Linked DNA regions of Homo sapiens: all the other regions are linked to region 3. Evidence: promoter capture Hi-C in 16 types of primary human blood cells and fetal thymus (Javierre and others, 2016). All regions are on one chromosome and are shown on one strand. The core of a region is centred on a gene start or on the middle of the fragment in contact, and the rest is flanking DNA. Distances in the headings are between cores, read along the strand shown.

Region 1 (7,903 bases), core at 128-2,627, 190 kb before region 3:
AAGGAGTACTCGGTGTTCCTGACCATGCTGTGCATGGCCTACAACGACTTCTTTCTAGAGGACAACAAGTGACCAGGGCTGCCCTCCACCCTCACCCTCCACCCTTTGCTGCTGACCTCGGCTGCTCCTCTCACAGACCCTCTTTGGCCCCCTGCCCTCCTCTCCCTCCCAGATGGACCCTTCCATGGGAGGAAATAAAGTTTCCATCGCAGGTGCTGGGAGTCTGGTTTTGAAGCTGTCTTGTCTACCTTGGCCTGGGGAGAGGGGAGCACAGGAAGGGTCTCTCCTTGAGTGGGTTGAGACAGCTTCTGCCTCTGGGGGTTAGGGTCCTGGGCTCCCACTGCATTCCTCTCCTTCTTTGGTGTGGACGTCATTGGTTTTGTCATGGCTTAGTTTTGCCTGCCTGGAAAATGGGGAAGTTAGGCCAGGCGGGAACTCTGCAAGGATGCAGAGGAAGTTAAGAGGGAAAGTTGCTTTGAGAGGAGGACACTGGGAGGGGTTGGGAGTGGCTCCTGAGGGCGGTGATAGGCAGGCAGGCCTGACTTGTCCACAGCTCACCGGAGGCCACCTTGGCAGCACCTGTAGGAAGGGCATGTCTGGCCTCCACACCAGCCCCCTCCCTCTTCACCATTTCCCCTTCAATAGCACCACTCTCATCATCTATGGGGGACAGTGCTTTCTTCTCTCCCTGCCTCCTCCATCAAAATCTTTTCTCAGGGGAGGGTCTGAAAAGGCCTTCACTCCCCCGTAAATAACGAATGGTGCTTACAGGGCTGGGCTCCCACGTGCATGCACATTAACACCAAAGGTGCTGTAGTGAATGGAATTTGGGGCACTGAGGGGAAGGAGTGGAGGTGTTGGTAGGAACTTGTTGCTGGTGGGGGATGGGCGCCGTAGATATCCTTTACACCACTGGCTACTCCCCCTATCTCCTCTGGGGTGACCCTGAGTATCCTCTGTGGGACACCGGCATCCTGTGAGGCGCCCTCCTTGCCCACATTGACGCTGCGCTGGCTCGAGGGTCACATTCACGGTCTGGCAGAGGAAGCAGGGGTGACCGCCGCAGTCCTCCTCCTGCTCCCCTTGCCGAGTCACGTGTCACGAAGAGCAAACTGAGCAAACTGAGCTGCGCAGATGAGGGGAGACTCGTCACCAGGCGTGCAGTGGGCACTGCTGGGCTCCCCCATCCCGTCCTAACCCGGAACAGCCCCGGGCAGGAGGCGTGGAAAGTCGAGGGGGTAAACCGCGAATGTGCGTTGTGTAAGCCACGGCGCAGGGTGGGGCGCGGGCGGGACTTGGGCGGGCGGGGTGGGCTTGGCCGAGCTGGCCTCCGGGGCACCGACCGCTATAAGGCCAGTCGGACTGCGACACAGCCCATCCCCTCGACCGCTCGCGTCGCATTTGGCCGCCTCCCTACCGGTGAGTTCTCTCCAGGAGCCCTGGGTACTTTCCAGGGCCAGCTGCCCTCACGCTGGGGGTCCAGCCATCCCCTGCCCAGTTCAGCCGCTGGATCCAGACTGGGGCCATCTGTGGCGCTCCCCCGCTGGAGGGATAGTCAGGAGCAGCAGTGCTGTGCCAGGCAGGCCTTGGGCTAAGGGATCGCAATGGGGTGTGCTCTTTTGGGGTGCGGAAGGGAGTGCCCTGGGTGTGTCATTGCCACCATGTGTGGCCCTGTGAAGCTGTGTTTAAGCTGCCTTTGCAGCCTCCATTCCCCTCCCCTGCCCAGCCATACTCCTCAACTTCTGGATCCCCTGAAGGACAGTTCTCAGCTGTGCCCAAAGCTACTGTTCCTATATGCTTCTTAGAATCCTTAAGCCACCTCTCTTGCCTTGGCCCTAGTGTGCTCTCTCCTTCCCCTTCAAGCCCTGGGCTGTCTCCTGATGCCATTGTGTGTGGCCTGAGACTGGGTGGTTCCAAAGGAGGCGGGGCTAGTGCAGGCAGCATTATTGGGGTGTGTGGGTGAGAAGTCCTTGCTCCCATGGCACTGACTAGGCCCTCTGCTGCCAGCTCCAAGCCCAGCCCTCAGCCATGGCATGCCCCCTGGATCAGGCCATTGGCCTCCTCGTGGCCATCTTCCACAAGTACTCCGGCAGGGAGGGTGACAAGCACACCCTGAGCAAGAAGGAGCTGAAGGAGCTGATCCAGAAGGAGCTCACCATTGGCTCGGTGAGTGGCCTCCTCCCCAGGACCCCTTTTCCCACCCTTGTCCTTTGGAAGCAGGATTAGGGGAGAGAGAGGTGCCAGGTGCATCTGACTCACATTTACCCACATTCTGAGGCCCTGGTCCACATGTAGACCCTGAGCTGTAGACCCACTCTCCCAGCGGGTAGGGGATGCTTCCAGCCGGATATCCATCTCTCCAAATGAGGACCAGTAACTGAGAAGTAGCTGAGGAGAAGCAATGCCAAAGTGACATGGGTCCTTGGTGATGAGGGAGCACAGAGCCACTTGCAGAGAGGATTGCCTGGGAGGGGGAAGGGGAAGAATCCAGGGTTGTCATCACCACTGAGTATGGATTTCACATTCTAACACATTAGAAGCTGCAGGATGCTGAAATTGCAAGGCTGATGGAAGACTTGGACCGGAACAAGGACCAGGAGGTGAACTTCCAGGAGTATGTCACCTTCCTGGGGGCCTTGGCTTTGATCTACAATGAAGCCCTCAAGGGCTGAAAATAAATAGGGAAGATGGAGACACCCTCTGGGGGTCCTCTCTGAGTCAAATCCAGTGGTGGGTAATTGTACAATAAATTTTTTTTGGTCAAATTTACCCTTGCGTCCTGGCTTCCGAATGATTTCTGTTCCTCCTTGGCTTAGTGGGACACCAGCCATTGGAAGATTTGCTCACGGTCAACCTCTGAAAATGACTCATTGACTCGCCAGGCCAGAGGACCCACCCTGACAAGGCTGCCTCTAGCACATAAGGTGCCTTTATGTGAATGAGGAGAGATGCCCCTCTTGGCAACGCCATCCTAAGGAAAGGCTCAAGTGGTTTCCAGTAGAGAGAGTCCTGGGATGAGCTTGGAGATGGAAATGGTCCCTGGGCCGGGATGTGATGGGGTTTGGGGGCCTGGAAGTGAGGCAGAGATAGTCCCAGAGGCTCCCAGATGTGTTTTGCTCTGGGTGTGGCAAGAGGGGCCCTGGGGTGGGGCAAGTCCCCTTTCTCATCACAGCGCAGGGGTTAGATAGGGCACATCTGAGATGCCTGAGGCTTGGCTCAGGGAGTTTCCTACACCAGTGAGGACGCTGTGTGACTGAGTCTACTGCGGCTGCCCAGGTCCCAGGTGGAGTGGGGGAGGCACACTCTTGGAGTGTGTCCCTGCATTCAGGGTGAGGGCTTTTTGTTGGAACGGTGGTCTGAGGAGCTGGCAGCTGCACCAACACGTGAACCACGGGGTGTTCAGTAATGGGGCGGGGTATCCCTGCAGCCTCAGCGTAATGACTCACCCGGCACTTCCACGGGATCCCAGCCTGGATCTCAGCCCCCATCAGAGAAGATGACTAATTGAATCATTGTCCATCATCTGGATTAGTGTTTTCAGGCAGAAGGGAAGAGGATAAGGAGGGTAAACGCTGTTTCCGGGTGATGCCACATCATTCAGCCTCTCTAGGCCTAGTCCGAGCTGGGCAAGTTTACCTCTAGCTTCTGGGGAAGAGATCTTGACTTTAGATGGAGACCACATCCTTCTTTCCCTCTCACCTCCCCACTTCCCTTGGGGGTCCAACTTTGTGGAATTAAGTTGTCTTCTGTCCCCACTGGGTGGGGATTGGTAAACAGCTGGGAGATGCACCTTCTTGGAGGCCCTCCTTCTCTATTGCCTCCCCTGCCCTGCAGGGAGAAGTCGCGCTGTTGGTTGCAAGAGACCGGGGGCCGAATTCCCTCTCTGCACAGCCGTGCCCAAGCCTTGGCTCTATTCAGCTCCCTCTGGAAAAGTACGCGCTCCCTAACCCCTCCCGCGCCCCTCTAGGTTCCCGCCCTACACCCCTTTCCTCCCCCTTTCTTCCAGTCCCTCTCCGCCTGCCTTCCAGTGGCTGACAACTTGGGGTTCGGAGCGAGCGCCCTCCTGTGGACAGAGAGCAGGGCGCTGCGGGGACAGTCGGGTTGGTTTTCTTGAGCCTCTGGCAGGGGCCCGCCGTGGGGCTGTGGCCTGGCAGTCAGGGGAGTCCTTAGGAAGAGGAAGACAGAATAGGGCGCCCCGGGAATGTCAGGGTAGGGGGATCCTTTAGCTCCCGGCAATCAGCCCTAGAATTAAGCAACTCAGCTTCACAATTGACACACCTACAATAAGCAAGTCCATGAGGGAAAGGCGGTCCCTTTGTAAAGACAAATGGAATCGGAACCCTGCGCCTCCCCTCCCCAACCTGCAGGGCTAGAAGACCTTCGTACAAATCAATGCTCCCTGAGGAGAGGGAAGAGGAGTTTCAGTGACAGGAAGCCCGCTGCTGCGGGGAGGGGATGCTCAGGCAAGGCCGTCTGCCGGGCGTTCCTGGGGAGCTCTGGTGGGTGGGCAGGCCACCGGTGCAGGAGAATCAACACAGGTGCACAGTCCATCTGCTCAGTAAACAGGCGTGTCCTTTCGTTTCTGCTTCTCCACAGTGGTGGAGGGGAAAGGGAACATGAATTTCAAGAATAAAACAAAAAACAAAACAAACAGCAAATCTTTAGGGGTATAATTTTTTAGGTTTTTTTTTTTTTTCTCGCAGGATAGGGGAGGGAAGCAGCATTTACAATGGAATATGGTAGGTGCAGCAGTCAAATGGTGGAATTGGGTGTGGAGAGGTGCATAGACTGGACGTTTTATTGCTCCGACCAATTTAAAGTTGGAATTGAATCCTTTCAGCTCACTGTTGAGTATGGTGTGGGCTTACAGGATGGGGAAAAGTTAGGATGTGAGCTGAGGGCTTCATGAGAGGTCACTTTGCTTCTCTGAAGGTTGAGCAGTGGGAGTGGCTCTAGTCTCTCCACTTCCTTCAGTTGAGGTCCTCCCATTACTGACATTAATCCTACAATCTAATCACCCTAACATTGGTGAAGCTGCAACAGCAGCACCACAGACCATCTCTGTAAACTGGGGCAGGCCCCAGTTAGGGGGTTTAGGACTGAGTCACAGGAAGTAGCTCTCTGTTTTTTGCCAAGCAAAAAGGAAATTGTCAAGAATAATGCCACCACCTTTGTATAGGACCACATTTTTATAGCAGCTTCATTTTTGTGAGGCACCTATCATAGCCATTGCCTCTTGTCATCTTAGAAGATTTGTGTGTAGTATGTATTATTTTATTTTAATTTTTTAGAGACTGTCTCTCTCTGTTGCCCAGGATAGAGTGCAGTGACACTATCATAGCTCACTGCAGCCTCCAACTCCTGGGCTCAAGTGATCCTCTCACCTCAGCCTCCCGAGTATCTAGGACTACAGGTGTACACCAACATGTCTGGCTAATTTATTTTTTGTAGAGATGAGGTCTTGCTGTTTTGCTCAAGCTGGGCTTGAATTCCTGACCTCAAGTGATCCTCCCCACTTGGCCTCCCAAAGTGCTGGGATTAAGGTGTGAGCCATGTGAGCCGCTGTGCTCAGCCTGTGTAGTATATATGATTAACCCCACTGGACAAGTGACAAGAGGGAGCTACAGGGAAGCCATTGCCTCTACCCAGGTCAGACTGTAAGTTAAGAGGGAGCTGCGAGCAGAGCTGAGTTCTCCTGATTCCAGGCCAGCTCATTAGTGCCTGTCTCATGACATTCTTTGACCATTTCTTCCTTATCTTTTTCTCTTAAATGTTTTAATTAGATATTGGGAATACATAAAACTGTTTATAGACTAAATCTAAGATATAAGAACAATGACACAAAATCCACCCAGTATAACAAGTGAACATTACCATCACCTTCTAATTCCCTAACTTGTCTTCCCCATCCCATTTTCTTCCCTCTCAGTGGGACCGCTGTCTGGTAATACTATTTGTCATTTCCTTTCTTAATAATTTTTACTACATGTATTTTCATCTCTAAATGATATATGGGTTTACATTATTGTGAGTTTTATGTAAATGGAATAATGCCATGTGCATTCTTCTGTTACTGGCTGTTTTTCACTCAACGTTATGTTTGAGATTTATCCAAGTTGCTCTAGTTTGCTAGTTTTCACTGCTATGTAAGAGTTCATCATATGACTATAACATTATTTATCCTGACTATTGCTAATTATCATTTTGGATTATTTCTATTTTCCCCATTACAAACAGTGCTTCTGTGACCATTCCTGTAGATATCTCCTAGGATACGTACCAGAGTTGCTGGAGGTTTGCACCTATGAGTGGAATTGCTGGTGTGTAGAGTACTCACTTTCATTTTTACTAGAAAATGCCACCTTGTTTTTCAAGGTTATTGTACTAATTTGTACTCATAACAGCTTTGCATGTTCCATTTATTCCACATCCTTATTTTTTGTTGGGCTAAGTTTTTTTGGTGCCCAGTATGAAATGTTAACTGATTTTTAAAATTTGTATTTCCAGGATTACTGATGATTCTGAGCATCTTTTCTTTTCTTTTTCTTTTTTTTTTTTTTTTAAGTATAGACGGGGTTTCACCGTCTTAGCCAGCACGGTCTCAACCTCCTGACCTCATGATCCGCCCTCCTTGGCCTCCCAAAGTGCTGGGATTACAGGCGTGAGCCACTGTGCCCGGCCAAGCACTTTTTCATATGTTTATTGGCCATAAGTTTCTCTTTCTGTGAAGTTTCTGGTCAAGATTTTTGCTCTTGTCCTTATATATGTTGCAAATGTCATCTAGTTTGTGGCTTGTTTTTGCACTCTTTTAAGGATTGAAAATTAAGAAGGTATCAATTTGCTTTTTTTCTTTTTGAGACAGAGTCTTGCTCTGTTGCCCAGGCTGGAATGCAGTAGTGCAATCTTGGCTCACTGCAACCTCCACCTCCCAGGGTCAAGCAATCCTCCCACCTCAGCCTCCTGAGTTGCTGGGACTATAGGTGTGTGTCACCATGCCTGCCTAATTTTTTTTAATTTTTTTGTAGAGATGAGGTCTCACTATGTTGCCCAGGCTGGTCTCAAAATCCTGGGCTCAAATGATCCTCACATCTCAACCTCCCAAAGTTTTGAGCTTGCAGGTGTGAGCCATCCTGCCCCACCTGGATTTTTTAAATGTCTTTAAATAACATGTTATCATTTTCACCAAGTGTATACTTAATTGTACAATTTATTGACATTGTTGCAAATGCCATATTTTTGTTTATGAAAAAGCCAACCTCTGTAACATATATGTATATATTTTTTGTATTTTATTTTTAATTATTATTATTTTTAAAAAGAGATGAGGTCTCACTGTGTTGTCCAGGCTAGTCTTGAACTCTTGGGCTCAAGCAATCCTTCCACCTCAGCCTCCCAAAGTGCTGGGATTACAGGCATGAGCCACCATGCCTGGCTTATAAAATATTTAAAGAGATTTATTCTGAGCCACATGTGAAGACCATGACCCATGACACAGCCTCAGGAGGTCCTGAGACCATGTGACCAAGGTGGTTGGGTTATAGCTTGATTTTATACATTCTAGGGTGACAGAAGTTACAGGCAAACATCAACACATTAAGGTATACATTGATTTGGTCTGGAAAGATGGGACATCTCAAAGTGAAGACTTACACGTCATAGGTGAATTAAAATAATTTCTGATTGGCAATTGATTGAAAGAGTTAAATTATTACCTGAAGACCCAGAATCAATAGAAAGGAGGGTCTGGGTTAAGATAAAGGATTGTGGAGACTAAAGTTCTTATTATGTAGATGAAGTCTCATAGGCGGCCACCCTTAGAGGCAATAGATGGCAAATATTTCCTATTCAGATGTTTAAAAGGTGCTAGACTCTCAGCTAATCTCTTCTATTTTTTTCATGTGCA
Region 2 (7,819 bases), core at 2,855-5,354, 210 kb before region 3:
ACAGGAAGGGCGGTGCCCTGATGCCCAGACGGGCCGGGATAGACAAAGGGCCAAGGAGGAAGGGGCCCTGGGAGGGGGCAGCCCTCCCTTGGGCTGGGCTCTGAATGGCCACAGTGTTTGCCTTTCTCCGGGTCTGGGGAGGACATGTGTGTGGGGGGCAGTGAGAGAGGGCTGTGGCTGAGGGCTGTGCTTCAGGCCTGGATTCTGGCTTGGGAAGCTGTCCAGCTGGTGTTTTCAGCCTTGGGTAGGGATGTACCCCTACCCACCCACCCAGCCCTCAAGCTGGAGAAGAGGAGGCCAAAGTTTTCCTGTTCAGCCTTTAACTACTCGGGACTTCCTTATGCTCCCCACAGACTGTGGCCCAGCCCAACTGCGGCTGTGTGTAGAGCAACCCCATTTCTCACTGCTTCCCCATCCTTCCAGACACCTTCCTACACAGAGGGACCTTCCCAGGTATTTCTAAGCACACTTAGTTACCTCATTACCTCATTAAGAGGTATTCTGGTGCTGGCCATTAAAAGTCACTCCACTTCATCCATGCCCTGAAGTCAGTCCTGTCCTTCTCCTCCTGATGTCCCCCAGCTGCCTCCTCTGGCCCCCAGCTTCCTAAGGGTGGCCCCAGGTTGCTTCTCTCTCACACACACGGGCGCATGTATGTACACGAGCACTGGACCATGAAGTCTCAGCGTGTGCTCACAGCCTCTCACACAGGAGTGGGCTGTGACTCACAGGCATGTCATGAGAATGAGGCCTGGCACCAGTCTCCAGGCCCCAGAGCAGGGGTTGCCTCCCCTCACCCCGGTCCAGGATGCCCAGTCCCCACGACACCTCCCACTTCCCACTGTGGCCTGGGTGGGCTCAGGGGCTGCCCTTGACCTGGCCTAGAGCCCTCCCCCAGCTGGTGGTGGAGCTGGCACTCTCTGGGAGGGAGGGGGCTGGGAGGGAATGAGTGGGAATGGCAAGAGGCCAGGGTTTGGTGGGATCAGGTTGAGGCAGGTTTGGTTTCCTTAAAATGCCAAGTTGGGGGCCAGTGGGGCCCACATATAAATCCTCACCCTGGGAGCCTGGCTGCCTTGCTCTCCTTCCTGGGTCTGTCTCTGCCACCTGGTCTGGTGAGTACCTCTGTCCTGCTGAGGGCAGGGTGGGGAGGATCCCCGTGGGTCTCTGTCTTTGTCTCCACAGTTCTCTCATTCCAGCTTCCCTGGTGGGATCAACCTGGGCCTCTCTGGGCCTTCCCCCTTGGAAGAACTCTCTGTGAAGTGCTGAAGTGTTGACTGAAGGGTTTTTTTTTTTTTTTTTTTTTTTTGAGATGGAGTCTCGCTCTGTCGCCCAGGCTGGAGTACAGTGGTGTGATCTCAGCTCACTGCAAACTCCCCCTCCCAGGTTCACGCCATTCTCCTGCCTCAGCCTCCCGAGTAGCTGGGACTGCAGGCGCCCACCACCATGCCCGGCTAATTTTTTTGTATTTTTAGTAGAGATGGGGTTTCACCATGTTAGCCAGGATGGTCTCGATCTCCTGATCTCGTGATCCACCCATCTCGGCCTCCCAAAGTGCTGGGATTACAGGAGTAAGCCACCGCGCCCGGCCGACTGAAGGGTTTTTCTCCAGGTTCCTCTGTGAGGTCTCAGTGCAGGGGTTGCTCTGAGGCCCTCCCCTGGATATCTCAGTCTAGGGGCCCTTCTTTGGGGGTCTAGGCCTAGGAGCAGGAGGTGTGCATGTGGGCGTTGCTGCAAAAAGAATCCTGAGATTTTTTTTTTTTTTTGCAAAGTCCTGGATTCTAGCAGGACTAAGGTGCAAGAGGCAGGGGTCTCAAGACTCTGCCTGGGTCATGGCCCCAAGCAGCAAAGCTCTGCCCCCTGCCTCGGTGAAGGCAGGGCTGGCATGATGGGCCCAGGGCATGCCCTGCCTCTGGCATAGCTCCTCTGGCCTCACCCTGAAACCTGCCTAACCTTTCCAGGCTGGTCTGAGTATTCTCAGAGGCCTTGCCGCTGAGGTCTGTCCCATCCTGATCCCAAGGCAATGAACATTTCATATCTTTAATTCTAATTCCAACAGGATCCTTCCTGGTGGAGAGAATGTTAAGTTGCCCCCACCCTATCCATGCCCCTGTCTGCCTAGAGGCTCAGGGGCCTTCAGGGTGAGGGGAGACACATTCCCCACCCTCTGGGAGCTCCTAGTCTGAGAGAGGAAACACTCCTGCCCAAGGGAGCTTCCAGTTAGATGGCAGAGAGAGATGCCTCTGGCTTCAGGAGTCCCGAGTCTAAGGAGGGAAACGACTCCTTCAGGGAGCTTCCTGCTCCTAGGCTGTAGCCATGGCTCCTGCCAGACTGCACAGGAGCCCCCATCTGCCAGCCGGTGCATGTGGCCCTGCTCCCCAGAGCCTGCGCAGATGCCATCAAAATGGGACTCTGGTCACCCTGTCATTTCCCTTCTGGCAGACACTAAAATGGGGAGCCCTGCCCTCAGGGGGGTGTCCCAAGTGCCATCAGAGGAGGCTTGGTGACTCCCAGACACAAGGGAAGCTTTAGCGTCTGCCCTCAGGGTGAGATGGAGGTATCGCCTCCGGCCTCAGGGAACCACAGTCTGAGGGGGAGATGCAGCCCCTGCCTTCCCATTCAGAGAGGGGTTTTGTGAGGTGGCTTGGGGGCATAGGGCAGAAGTGGATCCTACAGGCTGAGCTAAGGCCCCAAGAGCCTCAGCAGTGTACCCATCACCTGGCACCTCTGCAGCCACAGATCCATGATGTGCAGTTCTCTGGAGCAGGCGCTGGCTGTGCTGGTCACTACCTTCCACAAGTACTCCTGCCAAGAGGGCGACAAGTTCAAGCTGAGTAAGGGGGAAATGAAGGAACTTCTGCACAAGGAGCTGCCCAGCTTTGTGGGGGTGAGTGGCACAGGCCTGTGGGGGAGGTCCTGGTGTGAGTGTGGGGGTGCAGGTTAAATCTCTCCCCCAGTTCCGGGTGCCTGTCGATGCAGGTGCCAGGGTGGGGCCCAGCCCCCTCCCCACTTTAGCTTCATGGCTCCACTGGAGTGGAAATGAGGCCCGAGTGGGAGTGCTTAATTAATGGCTGTTTCCTGCAGCATTCCAGAGAACCATGTGCTGTGAGGGCCTTCCGAGTCCATCTGTTTAATCCTGTCATTGGAGACTTGAGAAACCAGAGCCCAGAAGGGAAAAGTGATTGTCCCAAGATCACACAGCACTGGCACGTTCTCTCTCTCTCTTTTCTTTTCTTTTTTTTTTTTTTGAGATGGAGTTTCCCTCTTGTTGCCCAGGCTGGAGTGCAATGGCACGATCTCGGCTCACTGCAACCTCTGCCTCCAGGGGTCAAGCAATTCTCCTGTCTCAGCCTCCTGAGTAGCTGGGACTACAGGCGCATCCCACTACGCCCAGCTAATTTTTGTATTTTTAGTAGAGACAGGGTTTCACCATATTGGCCAGGCTGGTCTCGAACTCCTGACCTCGTGATCTACCTGCCTCGGCTTCCCAAAGTGATTTTTGTATTTTTAGTAGAGACGGGGTTTCATCATATTGGTCAGGCTGGTCTCGAACTCCTGACCTCAGGTGATCTGCCCTCCTCGGCCTCTGAAAGTGCTGGGCTTACAGGCGTGAGCCACCGTGCCCGGACTCCTTTTTTTTTTTTTTTTTTTGTGGTGGGGGGACAAGATCTCACTCTGTCACCCAGGCTGGATCATAGCTCACTGTAATCTCGAACTCCTGGGCTCAAGCAATCCTCCCAAGTAGTTGGAACTACAGGAGTATTGTCACCATGCCTGGCCAATTTTTATTTTTGTAGAGATGGAGTCTTGCTATGTTGTCCAGGCTGGGCTTGAACTCCTGGGTTCAAGCAATCCTCCCACCTCGGCCTCCCAAAGTATTGGAATTACAGATGTGAGGCACTGTGCTTGACCTCTTTCCATTTTTATATGCCAAACTAAGAAAGTATGTAGGGATAGAAAAGCCCAGCTAAGATATATAGTCTGGGACATTTTGTGGAGAAATGCATCGACCTTCAATTTGTCCCTCACCCTCCCTATACTGACTCATTGGTGATTCCCAAAGTTAGGTGTCAGGCTTTGAACACATGAGGCAGGTCCTTCTTTCCTTTTTTTAATTTTGTTTTTGTGGCTGGTTAAATTTTTCTAATTATTTCGGCTAGTATTAAAAAAGTGTTTTTCAGCTGGGTGCAGTGGCCTATGCCTGTAATCCCCACAGTGTGGGAGGCTAAGGCAGGAGGATCTCTTAAGCCCAGGAGTTCGACCAGCCTGGGCAACATAGCAAGACTCCATCTCTACAAAAATAAAAATAAAAATTGGCCAGGCATGGTGGCATACGCTTGTAGTCCCAGCTACTTGGGTGGATTGCTTGAGCCCAGGAGTTCAAGGTTACAGTGAGCTATAATACAGCCTGGGTGACAAAGTGAGATCACTCTGGTTGCCAAGACCAGCCTAGGCAACATAGCGAGGCCTTGTCTCTACTAAAAATAAACAATTAGCTGGGTGTGGTGGCATGAGCCTGTGGTCCCAGCTACTTGGGAGGCTGAGGTGGGAGGATTGCTGGAGCCCAGGAGGTTGAGGCTGCAGTGAGTTGTGATTGTGCCACTGCACTCCAGCCTGGGCAACAGAGCAAGACCTTGTCTTAAAAAATAAAAAGTGTTCTTTTCTGAATCTACCTGGCTGGTGTTGGGGAGCAGCAACCTTCGGTTTCCTCATCAGCAGAATGGGGTGATGATACCTACCTCGCTGGGCTCCTGTGGGATTCGAGCTGATGCATGCTCAGAGGAGCATCCAGTGTCCTCCCTGTGTCCAGGAGGAGGGCACACTGGAGATGCTCACCAATGAGTATCTGTCTCTCTCCTTACTCACTGGGCCCTCTTGGTAGCTCCCAGGGCCTCCTGCCCACCTTATACCCAGCTGCCCAGTGGGGAGGGAGAGCTGGGAACCAACCTGAATGTGTGAGGGTCTGGGTGTTTGGTGGAGCTGGGGTTGGGGCTGGCTTGGTGATGAGTGTATTTCCTGTCACTTTCAGGAGAAAGTGGATGAGGAGGGGCTGAAGAAGCTGATGGGCAGCCTGGATGAGAACAGTGACCAGCAGGTGGACTTCCAGGAGTATGCTGTTTTCCTGGCACTCATCACTGTCATGTGCAATGACTTCTTCCAGGGCTGCCCAGACCGACCCTGAAGCAGAACTCTTGACTTCCTGCCATGGATCTCTTGGGCCCAGGACTGTTGATGCCTTTGAGTTTTGTATTCAATAAACTTTTTTTGTCTGTTGATAATATTTTAATTGCTCAGTGATGTTCCATAACCCGGCTGGCTCAGCTGGAGTGCTGGGAGATGAGGGCCTCCTGGATCCTGCTCCCTTCTGGGCTCTGACTCTCCTGGAAATCTCTCCAAGGCCAGAGCTATGCTTTAGGTCTCAATTTTGGAATTTCAAACACCAGCAAAAAATTGGAAATCGAGATAGGTTGCTGACTTTTATTTTGTCAAATAAAGATATTAAAAAAGGCAAATACCATCCACCATCACTATCATTTCATAAAAAGATAAAATTTCAATTCCAATAAAGGAGGAAAGGTATAATTTCAGAATAAAGGACAGACCTTAACATTCAATACTGCAAGTAATGAGTTGTACCAGGATCTACTCAAGAGATATGAATTAGTCTAATCGACCCCGCAAAGCTTTATTTAAAAGATTCCTTGTTAGACCGAGCACGGTGGCTCACACCTGTAATTCCAGCACGTTGGGAGGCCAAGGCAGGCAGATCCCTTGAGGCCAGGAGTTCGAGACCAGCCTGGTCAACATGGTGAAACCCCGTCTCTACCAAAAAATACAAAAAATTTAGCTGGGTGTGGTGGTACATGCCTGTATTCCCAGCTACTCGGGAGGCTGACGCTGGAGAATTGCTTGAACCTGGGAGATGGAGGTTATAGTGAGCTGAGATTGGGCCACTGGACTCCAGCCTGGGCAACAGAGCAAGACTGTGTCTCAAAAAAAAAAAAAAAAAAAAAAAAAAAAGAATACAGGCCATAGGCAGTGCTGTGGTTTGAATGTGTTCCCCAAAGTTCATGTGTTGGAAACTTTATCTCCAAAGCAATAGTAATTAACAGGTGATTAGGCCATGAGGGCTCTGCTGTAATGAATGGATTCGTGCTGTTATCACAGGAGCGGGTTCCTTATAGAAGGATGAATTTGTCCCCCCACCTTTTATTTCTCTCCCTCTCTTTGCTCTTCCACCAGGAGATGATGCAGCAAGAAGGCCTTCTCCAGGTGTTACCCCCTCCAGCTTAGACTTCCTGGCCTCCAGAATGGTGAGCCAATAAATATCTGTTTTGTTTTGAATACCAGTCTGTGGTATTCTGTTGTAGCAATACAAAATGGACCAAGACAGGCAGTACACCTGTTTTCAGAAAACAAGTGTATTGTATTCTATACAACACATTCTATATTATATTGTACATTCTTTTTTTTTTGAGACAGGGTCTCGCTCTGTTGCCCAGGCTGGAGTGAAGTGGCATCATAATCTCTGCTCACTGCAACTTCCGCCTCCCGGGTTCAAGTGATTCTCCTATCTCAGCCTCCTGAGTAGCTGGGATTACAGGCATGTGCCACTACGCCCAGCTAATTTTGTATTTTTAGTAGAGACGGGTTTCTCCATGCTGGTCAGGCTGGTCTTGAACTCCTAACCTCAGGTGATCTGCCCGCCTCGGGTTCTAAAGTGCTGGGATTACAGATGTGAGCCATCATGCCCGGCCGAGAGCAAAAATTTATTATCTCTTATGGTTCTGCAGGTAGACTGGGTTTAGTTGATGGTTCTCACGTGGGGTCTTCCATGTAGGTGGAAATCGGAGCTAGAGTAATCTGAATGTTTGAACAAACTCAACTTCTACGGTAGCTTGCTTAACATGCGTGGCAACTGATATCGAATGTGAGCTGGGACCTCAGCTAGAACTGCCAGCCGGAGTGCTTACCATGGCCTCTCGATGTGGCTTGAGCTTCTTAGAGCATGGCAGTAGGGTCCTGAGAGGACAAATCCCAAAGTGAGCATTGCATGAGGCCTACGTGGAAGCTGGTAGGCTTAAGATTTATTAATTTTAATTTTAATTAAATTAATTAATTTATTTTTGAGACAGGGTTTCATTCTGTCACCCAGGCCCGGGTGCAGTGGTGCAATAATGGCTCACTGCAGCCTCCACCTCCCAGGGTCAAGCAATTCTCCTGCCTCAGCCTCCCAAGTGGCTGGGACTACAGGTACACGCCACCATACCTGGTTAATTTTTGCATTTTTTGTAGAGACAGTGTTTCACCATGTTGCCCAGGCTGGTCTCAAATTCCTGGACTCAAGGGTCCCACCTGCCTTGGTCTCCCAAAGTGCTGGGAATACAGATATGAGACACTGTGCCTGGTATTTCTTAAGATTTATTTCAGAAATCCCAGGACATCATTTCTGCTATATTCTAATGATAAAAAAAAATCATTAAGTCTGGCTCAGATTAAGGGGAGGAGGAGAATTAGACATCTCTCTCTTTTTTTTTTTTTGAGATGGAGTCTTGCTCTGTCGCCCAGGCTGGAGTGCAGAGGTGTGATCTTGGCTTACTGCAACCTCCACTTCCTGGGTTCAAGTGATTCTCTTGCCTGAGTAGCTGGGATTACAGGCATGCGCCACCACGCCCGGGTAATTTTTGTATTTTCAATAGAGACAGGGTTTCACCATGTTGGTCAGGCTGGTCTTCAACCCCTGACCTCGTGATCTGCCTGCCTCGGCCTCCCAAAGTGCTGGGATGACAGGCGTGAGCCACCGCGCCTGGCTAGACATCTT
Region 3 (6,866 bases), core at 452-2,951:
GAGTTTCTAACATGTGTCAGCATTATGCCAGACACTAAGCTAAACCCTGAGACTACAGAATAAAGTAAATTCCCACTTCTGTGAAATTCACAGCTGGAGGGAGGCTTAAGACAGAGGACAAAAAAATGTAAATATAAATAATGATAGTATTAAAGGCAGGTAAAGAGATAGACTTGGGAACTGCTCTTGAGGAGATTATAATTACAATTCATTCAGGTGCTAGAATGGAGAAGAGAGACTCTGAGCCTCTACCAGTCCCAACTAGTCACGGAGCCCTTTCCAAAGATGCCAGGCTGAAGTGGAGCCTCTGGGCGCAGGTGGGGAGCGAGGCTGGGCACTTGGGAAGGGTCTTGAGATGGTGGGAGGTGGGGCAGAGAGCACTGGGAGCCTGCTCTGGCAGCGTGGAGTGAGATGGGGCTGGGGGCCAGATAATTTAGGACTTAGGAGGTCCTCTCGGGATTCTGAGTTCACAGAATCAGAGAGGGACAACCCACACTGCTCTCTTCCTCCCTCCCGATGCCCTCGTCCCGGACAGCCCTCAGTCTGTTAGTCCTCAAGAATCTGTTGGTCTCTGGATGGGGCAGAGAATCTGTTGGTCCCCTTTGGCAGCCACCACCCAATCTCTTCTTGGGCTTCCCCTCCCCAAGCCGCTCCAAAAAGGGGAACCGAGTCTCCTCAAGTCCTTGGTGCCCCGGATGCAAGCCCAGAAACCTTCTCATTTTGAGAACTGTTCTACTTATTTAGGATGGGCGGCCAGCAAAAGGCATGGAGAAACAGCATGTTGCCAGGCTGGGGAAACTACCAGGGTCCCTACAGTGCTGGTCCCAGGCTGCAGTTCTTGGTCTCCTTCATCTCTGTCTCTGGCTCTGCCCCACATTCACCCTCACCCCAGGACAGAGCTCAGCAGCCCCTGCTCATCACACAGCTCCAGCCTGGGTCTGGGTGCATGACTGGGATGAATGCCAGGTAGACCTGGCGCATGCTCAATGGGCCCCATCCAGAGAGCGCTCCTGGGGAGCCCAGTCTGAGAGTGGGACTGCAGCTCACTGAGAGCAACTGTTCTGGATTCAGGGCACTTCCTAAGTGTCTAGGGAGGCTGCCCCACCCTCCGGGACATGAGAGGCTCTGCAGGTCCCCGTGGAGACTGCATCCTACTGCGTTCTTGGAAAGTGTCATGCAGAGTTTCCTCTGTGAAGACTCAAGGGCTGTAAGTCCAGGTTGCAGAATGTGGAATGAGATTAGGTGACAACTGGAACATGGCGAGGAGCTGGAGATTCTTGGTTTGTGGGAGGCTTTCTGTGGTAGGTGGCAGCTTGATGCCGACGGTGGGGAGTGGCAGGCGGGAGGATGATGGGCAGACATGTAAGCTATTGGGGCAGAATTAGGCATCGTGAGCTGTTTCCTGAGATTGTACCTCCCAGTTTCTCTCTGTCCATCCTGACCCTGCTCATGACCCTGGTAAAAGGTGGTGTTGGTGAGTGACTTCAATCCACAGTCTTCAGGCTCCTGGAGCAGAACTTCACAGGCAGGAAGTTTCTAGATGTTGCAGACACAACCCTCAGGCCCTGCAGGCTTTCCCAGGTTGGGGCTGAGGACGAGCTCTCGGGAGTGTTGGGCAATCTTGCCCTTTCCCAGGGAGGAGCTACCTGGGCTTATTCACAGGGCGGGTCCCCAGGTGCTCTCAGCCTGAGTCTGGTCCCACTTGCATTTCTCCAGGTGCTGTGAAAGGAGCTGGCTCAGAGCCTTGCCCTCTGTCTTCCCTTCTCCCCATCTTTTGTTAGGGATCCTGGGCTCTCTTCTCTCTGGGAAGCTAGAGCCCGAGTGCTCCATTCCCAGGGAGGGAGTGCCCTCTAGGGCTAGGGAGAGTGAAGGCTGGAGGAGAAGGCGCCAGTTGGTGAAGAAGGGCAGGGCCTGGAGGCCAAGTCTGGAAGGGAAGGAGCTGCTGGCCAATCAGGGGCAAGCTGACTGCACCCTGACCTGCTGGGCTGGGACAGCACAGGACCCACAGATATCTGTGAGTTGAGTATGTGTTTCTTCTTCAGAAGCCCTCTTCCAGCAAAGGGACTGGAATCCACCAGAAAGAGTGTTAAGGATTGGATTTCCTCTGCCCTAGAACTAGGAACCCCTCCTACTCCTATATCTCCCTCATCTGGCATATTCCCAGCTGGGAAGGGATTCTCTGCATAAGACCCATCCATATGAGTCTGGATTTCTCGGTTGTACCATTCTTGGATCTTACTTCCTTTGTCTGTAAAAATGGGGGTTAACAGTCTTACATGACAGGATTAGTGTGAGGACTAATTAAATAAGACTGCATGTGCAAGTGTGTACACAGCCTTGCACGCCGTGGGCACGTGATGAAATTGAGTTCCTCGGGTAATAATAGGACAGGGATGCTGAGCACCTGCTGTATGCTGGGGGCCCTGAGAAGACTGAAGCAGGTGCTGGCCCTCAGGAGGCCACAGGATGGTAGAGGAGGCAGATGGCACCCACTGCAGTCAGGGTTTGGGATGCTCTGCAGATTGAGAATGGTCATGTTAACAACTGTCAGCGTCTCTCTCAGGCTGCCATCCACACTCTCCAGATTGGTGTCCTGGGACCACGTGGGGATGCTGCCGTGGCTTCTTGTCTTCTCTGCTCTGGGTATCCAGGCCTGGGGTAAGTTTTCTTTCCCTGGGCCAAAAAGCAACCGAGAAGGGTGATCCTAAAGTCTCATAATAGGAATTAAAAAATACCTACTGTCCATCTGAGCCTGAGGAGTTCAAGGCTGCAGTGAGCCGAGATCCCACCACTGCACTCCAGCCTGAGTGACAGAGGAAGAACTTGTCTCAAAAACAAACAAACAACAACAAAAAAAACTACTCTCTCTTGGCCAGGGGTGGTGGCTTATGCTTGTAATCCCAGCACTTTGGGAGGCCTAGGTGGGCAGATCACGAGGTTAAGAGATCGAGACCATCCTGGCCAACATGGTGAAACCACGTCTCTACTAAAAATACAAAAATTAGCTGGGTGTGGTGGCACATGCCTCTAGTTCCAGCTACTCAGGAGGGAGGCTGAGGTAGGAGAATTGCTTGAAGCCAGGAGATGGAGGTTGTAGTGAGATGAGATCGTGCCACTGCACTCCAACCTGGGTGACAGAGCGAGAACTTGTCTCAAAAAACAAACAAACCAACAAACAAACAAAAACAAACCCATTCTCTCTTGGCCGGGCGCAGTTGCTCACGCCTCTAATCCCAGCACTTTGGGAAGCCGAGGCATGCAGATAAGGAGGTCAAGAGATCGAGACCATCCTGGCCAACATGGTGAAACTCCATCTGGCGCGCTCCTGTAGTCCCAACTACTCGGGAGGGAGGCATGAGAGAACTGCTTGAACCCGGGAGGCAGAGGTTGTAGTGAGCCGAGATTGAGCCACTGCACTCCAGCCTGGTGACAGAGTGAGAGTCCGTCTCAAACAAACAAACAAACAAAAAACAAAACAAAACGAAAAAATCCCCCAAAACCTACTCTCTCTTAAGGAGAAAGAATAGATTGTACATAGAGCACAGAACTTGGAGCCTATAGACCTGGATTCAAGTCCTCGCTCTGCCTCTAGGAATGATTTTAAACAAGCAATTAAGCTCTATAAACCCTTATTTTCCCATCTGAAAATTGAGATAGTTATGACTTCCTAAACTCACTGTGAGGATTAAATGAGATAATGCACCTGAAGATATAGCAATACGTGGGCAGTAAAAGCAAATAAACAGGAGCAAGGATTACATTTGTGTTATTATGATGTCAATCAGAGTCCAGCCTATGGCTTGGGTTTGTGCTTGTCAATAAGAGAAAGCTCCTTGTGGGTAAGGGTCTCAATCAACACCCTGCCCATCCCCCATGGGCCTTCAGACAGGAGAATGGGCATAGCACACGTCCCTAAAATCAATCCCGGGGGAACTGGTCTGAGCCGTGCAGGTAATTCTAACCCCTTCTTCACACACGCTTCCCCATTGCTTCGGTAAAATGCACACAAGAGAGGACTTTGTGGTTTTGAAGTGTCTGAATACATTTCTAGTTTTTTTTTTTTCCCCGCCAATTGTGTGTGTAGATACAGCTCATGAGAAAAGGATAACATTTCCAACTCCTTGCCTATCCCAGGGGATTTCCCAGAGTTGGCATGGAAGGAAGTTATGCCACCTGCTGCTATTAGAGGTGGCCCTCTGGTCAGCCCAGAGAGATTTCTTAGAGGAGGCTCTGGGATTTGAGGAGGCAGAGGGGCAGTGGAGAGGGGATGGCTGTTTCTGTTCAGAGCTGGTGCCACCATGATGGCTGGTATTGGTGCTCTCTGATGCAAAATGGGATATTCCTTTGCAGGTGATTCCTCCTGGAACAAAACACAAGCTAAACAGGTATCAGAGGGGCTCCAGTACCTATTTGAGAACATCTCCCAGCTCACTGAAAAAGGTAAACTGGATCTGGATAGTAAGGGGGTTTTGGGACGAGCTGGGGTTTTTCATGTGATCGGAAATGTTTCTGAGGTCTGCAAAGCCACATGTGACTGGGAGGGGGAAAATGGGGTTGAAGTGCAGAGAGCAGTACCAGTAAACCACCTGCATTAATTACCCAGGTCCTTGGGATGGAAGGCTGGTGCTGGAGGGCTAGAAACCCAGGAAGAGGGGAAACAGCCTCTGCAGACAGGGACTCCCTGTGGAGGGAGACCCAAACCTTGCCCTCAGGAAGTCCTCAGACTGAGGGGGAGACATAGCCCCTGCTGGGGGGAGAAGATGCAGTCCCCTCAGGGAACACTCAGAACCGCAGAGGAAATGATCAGAGAGCACACATTGAATGCTGAGGTGACACCAAGCCAGGCTGCTCAGGGCTTTCCCCAGGGATAAGCAGGTGATGCTTCCTGAAGTGCAGAGCCTGGACCACAGCAGGGGAGGAGATGAGTAGGGGACATTATGGGATGGGGGAGCAAAGCATTAGGCTCCCTGGCCAGGTGCAGAGTCTGTGTTCGGGGTGAGTGTTGGAGAGATGGGTATGTAGAGGTGGGCAGGGCAGGTGCACCTGCCTGCTGAAGGCTCTTCCACTACCAAGGGGCCGACACAGCCCATGCCTGCATGTTCAGCTTGGCGGGCTAATGCGGTAGTGATGGGGCAGGTGCGCTGAGTGACGTCCCCAAGGCCTTCCCACAGATGTCTCCACCACGGTCTCTCGCAAGGCATGGGGGGCAGAAGCTGTTGGCTGCAGTATTCAGCTGACCACGCCAGTGAATGTCCTTGTTATACACCATGTCCCTGGACTGGAGTGTCACGACCAGACAGTCTGCAGCCAGAGACTGCGGGAACTGCAGGCCCATCATGTCCACAACAACAGTGGGTGTGATGTGGCCTACAAGTAAGAGCTGGGTCTGGGTCCCACGGCACATGGTCAGTGTTGCTTCCCTGGGATGCTTCTCCTGTCCCTTCTCATCCCTTTTCCTCATTTTCTGGGTTGTGGTCCTATATGTTTTATAATGAATAAAATATTTAAAACCCCCATGAAACTCCCAATCCTTTGGATTTTTCTGTGAGGTGCCTGTCTCTGAGAGCTCCCAGGAGGAAGCAAGGAAGGTTAAGTAATAACTGTATTCTCTACCCTCCCCCAACCCTGGCTTGCACAGCACACTACAGATTGCAAACGACTTCCTCATACATGAGGGCTTTAGCTCTCCCGACTGGTAGGCAGGTGTCACCATCTCTTTGCCCTGGGAAGAGGGGCCCAAGGGAGGGAGGCTGATTAATTTGAGGTCACATATCTATGGACCCATGGAGCCTAAACTGGCTCTCTTCATCCCTGGCGTGCTCCTCCACACCACACACATGGGCTCCAGCCTCAGTGAGGCAAATGTCCATCTGTTCCTGTAATGATCGCTCTAGTAGGTCGTACTGGTGCCCATACCACATGCCCTTGGCTCACCTCTGACTTTGGCTAGCTGTGGACAGTTCCTGAGTGCAGTGATGGCTTCCTGCCTCAAGTGCCCAACACATCTCTCTGCTTTCCTGCTTCAGACCTTCCCCCAGCCCCTGACGACAAAAGGGAGTGAATGCCTTCCTGGGGGACAGGGCTTGGTGTGTAGCCTCCTCAACCCCAGCCCTTATGAGAGGCAGTTCTAAAGCGCATGTACACAGCTCCTGGGAAGGCCACAGGGTGGGGTGGAGTCACAGGTAGCCACTGTGAGCCAGCCCAATTTCACATACTTTGCTGGCTTTCTTCCTTCTGTCTCACTCTCCTCACCCTGGCTTCTGGGATCCTGTAAGAATTAAAGAGGAAAGAACCATGAAAGGTGGCTCGACAGTCGAGGACTGGTTTATTTTAGAAAAAACAAAACTGAGAGAGGCTTTTGGCCAAGTTAGGTCAGAGCCTACTCTCTTACAGACTAAGAGTTTTTAAGGTTTCAGGGTGGGAGAGTTTATCAGAGGCTTGGACTGCTTCTGTGTCTTTGTCGTGCTTATCTGGGAGGGACAGTTGTGTGTCTGTTCCCATACATCTTTCTGCAGCTGCAGGCATATCCCCACCGCCCCCCAGTCTGCTTTTAGCTTCCTTATCTTAGTGCACCTGAAGGGAAAGGAATGTGCTTATTAAGGCCCACTGTTTTACTGGGGCCAATTGTATGAGGGTGAAGTTTGGCAGTTACTCAAGGGACTTTCCTCCCACCCCTCTCTGCGCCTGAGCTGTCTTATCTGTGTTTTACTGTCTGCTCTTTCTGGCTGCTTGTTTTTTAGAAGAGAAGTGATTTCCTTGAAATACATGAGGCTAGAAAGGGAGCTGGAATTTAAAGTGGTGGTGTTTGTCTGAGATGATGGTGCTCCTGCTCTGTTAGATCTCTTTGCAGATGAAGTGCCTGCATC
Region 4 (7,137 bases), core at 2,746-5,245, 240 kb before region 3:
CTTGGTTTCTTAATTCCTGCATCCTTAATGTGATTTATTATTTGGTTGGTTGAATTTCAAAGGGCCCTTGTTTTATGTATTCCCTGAGTTGTTTCTTTCAACTCGAGTCTGTTGCAGCTTGGCAGGGAATACAATTCTTGGGTCACCCTTTCTCTCTGAGCCCTGTAACCTTCTCTCTACTGTTTGCTGACATTGTGTGTTTCATGGGAAAATCTCAGGGGAACTGGACTCTCCTCCCTGATACACAGCTTGCTTTCTGTTCATGGATGCTCTTCCTTTTTAAAGATTCTTTTTCTTTTCCTATTGTTCTAATGATGAAGTATTTCAAAGGTACAGAAAAGTACAGAAAATAACACAATATCTAATCATAAGCTTTGTTGAAGTTGGACATTTTTCTATATTTGAGTTAGATTGCTTTAAATAAATAACTAAAACTTACAGATCCAGTTAAAGGCCTCTGTGTACACTTCCGTATTGTACTTGCACTTTCCACAGCTGTAGTCACTATCCTGAACTGTGTATTTATGATCCCCTTGATTGAAAAATTTTTTGATCACATGTGTACAAATTTCTAAACAATATATTATTATTATTATTATTATTGAGATGGAGTCTTGTTGTGTTGCCCAGGCTGGAGTGCAGTGGCACAATCTCGGCTCACTGCAACCTCTGCCTCCCAGGTTGAAGTGATTCTCCTGCCTTAGCCTCCCAAGTAGCTGGGATTACAGGCGCCCGCCACCACGCCCAGCTAATTTTTAAACAATATTTTATTTAGTATTGCATGTTTTTGCACTTTACATAAATGGTATCATAGCATATAAATTCTTCTGCAACTTCCTCTCTTGTTTAAAATAAGATTTTACTTATTTATTTATTTATTTGAGATGGAGTTTCACTCTCGTTGCCTAGGCTGGAGCGCAATGGCTCAATCTGGGCTCACTGCAACCTCTGCCTCCTAGGTTCAAGCGATTCTCCTGCCTAAGCCTCCTGAGTAGCTGGGATTACAGGCCTGCACCACCACGCCCAGCTAATTTTGTATTTTTAGTAGAGACGGGGTTTCTCCATGTTGGTTAGGCTGGTCTTGAACTCCTGACCTCAGGTGATCCACCCACCTTGGCCTCCCAAAGTGCTGGGATTACAGGTGTCAGCCACCGTGCCCAGATAAAATAAGAGATTTATTTTAAGATTTATATTGATGGAGTTCATTCATTTTTACTACTCTATCATATTTCATTGTATGAAAATACCCTATTTATCTATAGTCCTATTGATGGACATTGGGCTGTTTTCAGTTTTTTGGGTGATTTATTTTAAAACTATTTTATTATCTATTTTTGTTTGTTTGAGACGGACTCTTGCCCTGTTGCCCAGGCTGGAGTGCAATGGCTCGATCTTGGCTCACTGCTACCTCTGCCTCCCAGGTTCAAGCGATTCTCTTGCCTCAGCCTCCTGAGTAGCTGGGATTACTGGCGCTCACCACCATGCCCAGCTAATTTTTTGTATATTTAGTAGAGACAGGGTTTCACCATGTTGGCCAGGCTGGTCTTGAACTTCTGACCTCAGGTGATCTGCCAGCCTCGGCCTATCAAAGTGCTGAGATTACAGGCGTGAGCCACCGCACTTGGCCGTTATTATCTATTAATTTAAAAATTTTGTTGCATTGCAGTCAGAAAAACATAATCTGTATAATATTGCAAACTTTTTTTTTTTTTTTTGAGATGGAGTCTCGCTCTGTCGCCTAGGCTGGAATGCAGTGGCGTGATGGCAGCTCACTGCAAGCTCCACCTCCCAGGTTTATGCCATTCTCCTGCCTCAGCCTCCTGAGTAGGTGGGACTACAGGCGCCTGCCACCACACCCGGCTAATTTTAGTAGAGACAGGGTTTCACCGTGTTAGCCAGGATGGTCTTGATCTCCTGACCTTGTGATTTGCCCTCCTTGGGCTCCCAAAGTGGTGGGATTACAGGTGGCCCTTTTTTTTTTTTTTTTTTTTTTTTTTGAGACAGCGTTTTGCTCTGTTGCCCAGGCTGGAGTGCAATGGCACAATCATAACTCACTGCAGCCTCGAATTCCTGGGCTCAAGCGATCCTCCTGCTTCAGCTTCCCAAAGTGCTGGGATTATAGGTGTGAGCCAACACATCTGGCCTTAATCTGATAATAGTGAGTCTCTGAAATTTTTCAAGGCTTTCTTTATAGCATCCAACATATTCAATATTACGTGATACATACATGCTAGAAAAGATTATGTATTTTCTCTTTGTTGGGTGTGAAATTCTATATACACCAATAGCTTAAATTTTTTGTTGTTGTTGTTGAGGTGGAGTCTCGCTCTGTTGCCCAGGCTGGAGTGTGGTGGTGTGATCTCGGCTCACTGCAACCTCTGCCTCCTGGGTTCAAGTGATCCTCCTGCCTCAGCCTCCCTAGTAGCTGGGACTACAGGTGCCCACCACCATGCCCAACTAATTTTTGTATTTTTAGTTGAGATGGGGTTTTGCCATGTTGGCCAGGCTGGTCTGGAACTCCTGACCTCAGGTGATCCACCCATCTTGGCCCTCCAAAGTTCTGGGATTACAGGAATGAGCCACCATGGCCAGCCCAATAGCTTGAATTTACCAATGATATTATACAGCTATTTTATACCTCTGCTTATTTTTGTCTCCTTGATCAACCAGTTTCAGAGAAAGGTGTGTAAAAAATCTCTAACCATAATTAATCTATTTCTTCCAAAAAACATTTTTTCTTTTTAATTTTTAATTAATTATTATTATTTTTTAATAGCGATGAGGTCCCACTATTCTGCCCAGGCTGGTCTTGGAACTCCTGGGCTCAAGCAGTCCTCCCACCCTGGCCTCTCTAAATGCTGGGATTATAGGCATGAGCCACCACACCCAGCCTCAGAAATTTTATCAGTTGTTGTTTTATATATTTTGAGGCTATATGAGTAGGTGCTTTTATGTTCCTGGTGTTTGTATTTTCTTGTATTACCTCATTCTTTGTCTTTTATATTTTTCCTCTTGTATCCTCTTTTGTCAAATATTAAAATTACTTCCCTGATTTTTTTTTGGTTTATATTTGCTTCATGTATTTTCTTCCTTTTGTTTATTCCTTCTATTTTCTTGTTTAAATATTTGAAATGGTTTTTTATTTTTTTTCAGATGGAGTTTCACTCTTGTTGCCCAGGCTGGAGTGCAATGGTGTGATCTTGGCTCACTGCAACCTCCACCTCCTAGATTCAAGCGATTCTCCTGCCTCAGCCTCCCGAGCGGCTGGGATTATAGGCATGTGCTACCACGCCTGGCTAATTTTTTTGTATTTTTAGTAGAGATGAGGTTTCTCCATGTTGGTCAGGCTGGTCTCGAACTCCTGACCTCAGGTGAACCGCCTGCCTTGGCTTCCCAAAGTGGTGGGATTATAGGCATAAGCCACTGCGCCCAGCCCGTGATAAAGTTTTTTTATTTTCAGTGTTTCTCTTGTATGCAACATATTGCTGAACCTTAAGGAAGAAACTCAACCCAGGAACGTTTGTCTTTTAAGAAGTGTGTTTACTTTACCCATCTTTATTACAATTACTATAATATTAGGACTTATTCTGCCATTTAATTTTATATTTTTCATGTACTGTGCCTTCTTTGTTGTTTCTTTCCCCACCTTTGTTACTTTCCATTACATAGAGCCAACATTCTTCTCATGTTTTGAAAACTATACATTCTATTTTCTTGTTAATGTAGTTGCTTTAATTTGACTTTATGCTACTTCATTGAATAATTTTTAATTATTTATATTCTTCCTAATAATAAAGTTCCTTTCACACCCTCCTATCCCATCAGTCTTGTCTTTTCCTTCCTCTTTTTTTTTTTTTGAGATGGGGTCTTGCACTGTCTCCCAGGCTGAAGTGCAGTGGTACGATCTTGGCTCATTGCAACCTCTGCCTCCTGGGTTCAAGCAATTCTGCCTCAGCTTCCCGAGTAGCTGGGATTACAGGTGTGCGCCACTGTGCTTGGCTAATTTTTGTATTTTTAGTAGAGACGGGGCTTCACCATGTTGGCCATGGTTGGCCAGGCTGGTCTCGAACTCCTGACCTCGGGTGATCTGTCTGCCTCGGCCTCCCAAAGTGCTGGGATTACAGGTGTGAGCCACTGCACCCGGTCCGTTCTGCTTATTTTCATCATATTCATAGTATCTATAATTCAGGTTTTTTTTCTTTTTTTTTTTTTGGTGTAAGTTCCCAACCAATGGCCTTGTCCTTCGAGTACTTTTCCTCAGGCTGATGATAAAAGTTCTGTGTGAAGGTCCTTTTGCTTCAGCTCATCTATGGGACGGAGTCCAGCTGCAAATATATGACACAGTAACTAGAGACTCTACTCTCCAACCAATCATTCCATTCTGATTATCTCTCACTCTCCTCCACCTCTTCTTTCTCAGACTCTCTCCCCCTTTTAGCTTTTGTTGATATTCAATTTTATTATGTCATTTAATCATGTTTATTTCCTATATTGCAGGCATCATCCTATCCTCTTGAACTTATTTCTCTTCTTATTTGGATACTTTGAGAACTGTAAATGTAGGTCTTTGTGTGACAAACATTCTGAGGCTTTTGTAATGCGATAATTTTTTTTTTGTTTTTGAGACAGAGTCTTGCTCTGTCACCCAGGCTGGAGTGCAGTGGCGCAATCTCAGCTCACTGCAGCCTCTGCCTCCCCGGGTTCAAGCAATTCTCCTGCCTCAGCCTTCTGAGTAGCTAGGACCACAGGCACGCGCCACCATGCCCGACTAATTTTTGTATTTTTAGTAGAGATGGGGTTTCATCATGTTGGCCAGGCTAGTCTGGCTAGTCTGTAACTCCTGACCTCAGGTGATCTGCCCGCCTCGGCTTCTGAAAGTGCTGAGATTACAGGCATGAGCCACCACGCCTGGCCGAGAATATTTTTTACTATATTTTCAAATTTGAATGACTATTTGGCTACACAGAATTTTTTTTTCTTTCTTTCTCTCTCTCTCTCTCTCTCTTTTTTTTTTTGAGATAGAATCTTGCTCTGTCTCCCAGGCTGGAGTGCAATGGCGCAATTTTGGTTCACTGCAACCTTAGGCTCCTAGGCTCAAGAAATTCTTGTGCCTCAGCCTCCTGAGTAGTTAGGGATTACAGGGGCATGTCACCACGTCCGGCTAATTTTTGTATTTTTAGTACAGATGGGGTTTCAATGTGTTGGCTAGGCTGGTCTGGACCTCAGGTGAACCTCCCACCTCAGCCTCCCAAAGTGCTGGGATTAACTGGGTGAGCCACTGCACCTAGCCTAAAATTTCTTTCAGTACTTACAAACCTTGCCACTTTCTTGTATTCAGTGTTTCTATTGAGAAGTCTGATGTCAATTTGATTCGTGTTCCTGCAGGACAGTTCTCCCCATGGCCTTGGCCTTATCCAGTTATCTCCCCTTTATCACTTGGAGCTCTCAGGAATAACTGTAGAATGGGCTGAGATACAACATCCCGAGATAAAGAGGGACTGGTGAACAGCCTGGGCCCCGTTCCAGTAACCCCTAGAAACAGGATGTCCTTCAACTCATTAGCCAAGCATGTCACATTGCCCCAGGGGTGTAAATCCAGGGCAGGCTGCTTTTTTTGTTTTGTTTTTTGAGACAGGGTCTCGCTCTGTGGTCCAGGCTGGAGTGCAGTGGCATAATCACGGCTCATGCAGCCTTGAACTCCTGGGCTCAAGAAATCTGTTCTCCTCAGTCCCCCAAGTAGCTGGGGGTACAGGTGTGTGCCACCATGCCCAGCTGATTTTTTTCTTTTTCCTTTTCTTTTTTTTTTGAGACGGAGTCTCACTCTGTTGCCCAGGCTGGAGTGCAGTGGCCCGATCTCTGCTCACTAAAACCTCTGTCTCCCGTGTTCAAGCGATTCTTGTGCCCCAGCCTCCCAAGTAGCTGGGATCACAGGTGCCCACCACCACATCGAGCTAATTTTTTTGTATTTTTAGTAGAGATGGGAGTATCACCATGTTGGCCAGGCTGGTCTCAAACTCCTGACCTCAGGTGATCCGCCTGCCTTGGCCTCCCAAAGTGTTGGATTACAGGGATTACAGGCATGAGCCACCGCGCCTGGCCTGTTTTTTATTTTCTAGAGATGGAGTCTCATTATATTCCCCAGGCTGGTCTCAAACTGCTGGCCTCAAGCAATCCTCCTGCCTCAGTTTCTTAAAGTGCTGGGATTACAGGCGTGAGCCACCATGCCCAGCCTTAGGATGCTTTTTGGAGTCCCTCAGCTGAGATGCAAGTGGGGCACATGTAACTGAGACTCCATCTGCCCTGGGCAGCTTTTCTTTTTTCTTTTTTTCCTCTTTTTCTAATCCAGTATGACTGGTAGTTCCTGGGCAGCTTTTCTGAGCCTTGGGGTACCAGCCTGCCATGAATCTGAGGCTTCTGTTGTCCCCTGCTTTCAATCTGTAAGTAATAAACCTGCTTCATGTAACTTGAGTGTGTCTGTGTGTGTCTGTTTAACTTGACTCAGACAGGTTGAAACCAGTGCACAACGGACCTACTTCTCAATTCCTTTGTAGGCAATCTATTGCTTTTGGAAATGTTCAGAGTTTTAATTGAATTTGATCTTCTTCCACTTCAATATGAGTCTAAATGTGTTTTTTTCCTCAGTTACCCTATTTAGCATTCTATGAGCCCTTTCTATCTGAGATCTTTTTCTCTAATTCTCAGAAGTGTTTCAATGTTATTACTTCATTATTTCCTCCTCTCTGTTTTTTTTTTTTTTAATTCCCTGTCTGGGGAATCCTGTTATCCTGATATGAGCACTCTACTTCTATTCTCCATAGCACTTAGCTCCTTTAAAAATATTCTCTTTGTTCTCTACTTCTGCCTTCTGGGAGAGTTTCTCAGTCTGATCATTTAGCTCATCCATTTATTCTCCAGTTGTAGCCATCTTTTATTTTTCCCAATGATTATGCTCTTTATTTTATTTTATTATTATTTTATTGACACTCTGTCACCCAGGCTGGAGTGCAGTGGCACGATCTTGGTGCATTGCAACCTCTGCCTCCTGGGTTCAAGCAATTCTCCTGCCTCAGCCTCCTGAGTAGCTGGGATTACAGGCTCACACCACCACACCCGGCTAATTTTTGCATTTTTAGTAGA

What was found. Contacts are between HindIII fragments. The CHiCAGO score rates a contact against its expected background, and 5 or more counts as called.
Region 1: the fragment with the promoter of S100A6 here is called in contact with the fragment with the promoter of PGLYRP4 in region 3 in 1 of 17 cell types (neutrophils); the score reaches 5.1 in neutrophils.
Region 2: a fragment that was not itself captured here is called in contact with the fragment with the promoter of PGLYRP4 in region 3 in 3 of 17 cell types (neutrophils, monocytes and M1 macrophages); the score reaches 9.0 in neutrophils.
Region 4: a fragment that was not itself captured here is called in contact with the fragment with the promoter of PGLYRP4 in region 3 in 1 of 17 cell types (neutrophils); the score reaches 8.3 in neutrophils.

What each region holds. Positions count from the first base shown.
Region 1 is chr1:153,529,465-153,537,367 of GRCh38, reverse strand. S100A6 (S100 calcium binding protein A6) reads left to right here and starts at 1,377. Exons shown (of 3, transcript NM_014624.4): 1 at 1,377-1,419; 2 at 2,008-2,166; 3 at 2,538-2,769. The coding sequence starts at 2,029. The coding sequence ends at 2,672. It overlaps S100A5 (S100 calcium binding protein A5), which reads left to right. Exons shown (of 3, transcript NM_001394232.1): 3 at 1-221. The coding sequence ends at 72. LOC124904423 (a long non-coding RNA gene) reads right to left here and starts at 3,926. Exons shown (of 2, transcript XR_007066630.1): 1 at 3,447-3,926; 2 at 1-2,464. RefSeq lists enhancers at 752-1,387, 3,341-3,635 and a cis regulatory region at 4,812-5,139. The HindIII fragment of the contact is 28,060 bases long and covers 1-7,903 here.
Region 2 is chr1:153,558,799-153,566,617 of GRCh38, reverse strand. S100A2 (S100 calcium binding protein A2) reads left to right here and starts at 774. Exons shown (of 3, transcript NM_005978.4): 1 at 774-1,112; 2 at 2,731-2,884; 3 at 5,027-5,510. The coding sequence starts at 2,741. The coding sequence ends at 5,179. RefSeq lists enhancers at 1-749, 723-782, 902-1,659, 1,660-2,417. The HindIII fragment of the contact is 3,158 bases long and covers 2,526-5,683 here.
Region 3 is chr1:153,343,676-153,350,541 of GRCh38, reverse strand. It overlaps PGLYRP4 (peptidoglycan recognition protein 4), which reads left to right and starts at 1,701. Exons shown (of 9, transcript NM_020393.4): 1 at 1,701-2,014; 2 at 2,564-2,658; 3 at 4,351-4,440; 4 at 5,160-5,373. The coding sequence starts at 2,610. RefSeq lists enhancers at 5,181-5,400, 6,207-6,286. The HindIII fragment of the contact is 10,086 bases long and covers 1-6,866 here.
Region 4 is chr1:153,585,893-153,593,029 of GRCh38, reverse strand. No RefSeq gene overlaps it. Among named protein-coding and RNA genes, the nearest start is that of S100A2, 24 kb to the right of the region's middle. The HindIII fragment of the contact is 7,242 bases long and covers 375-7,137 here.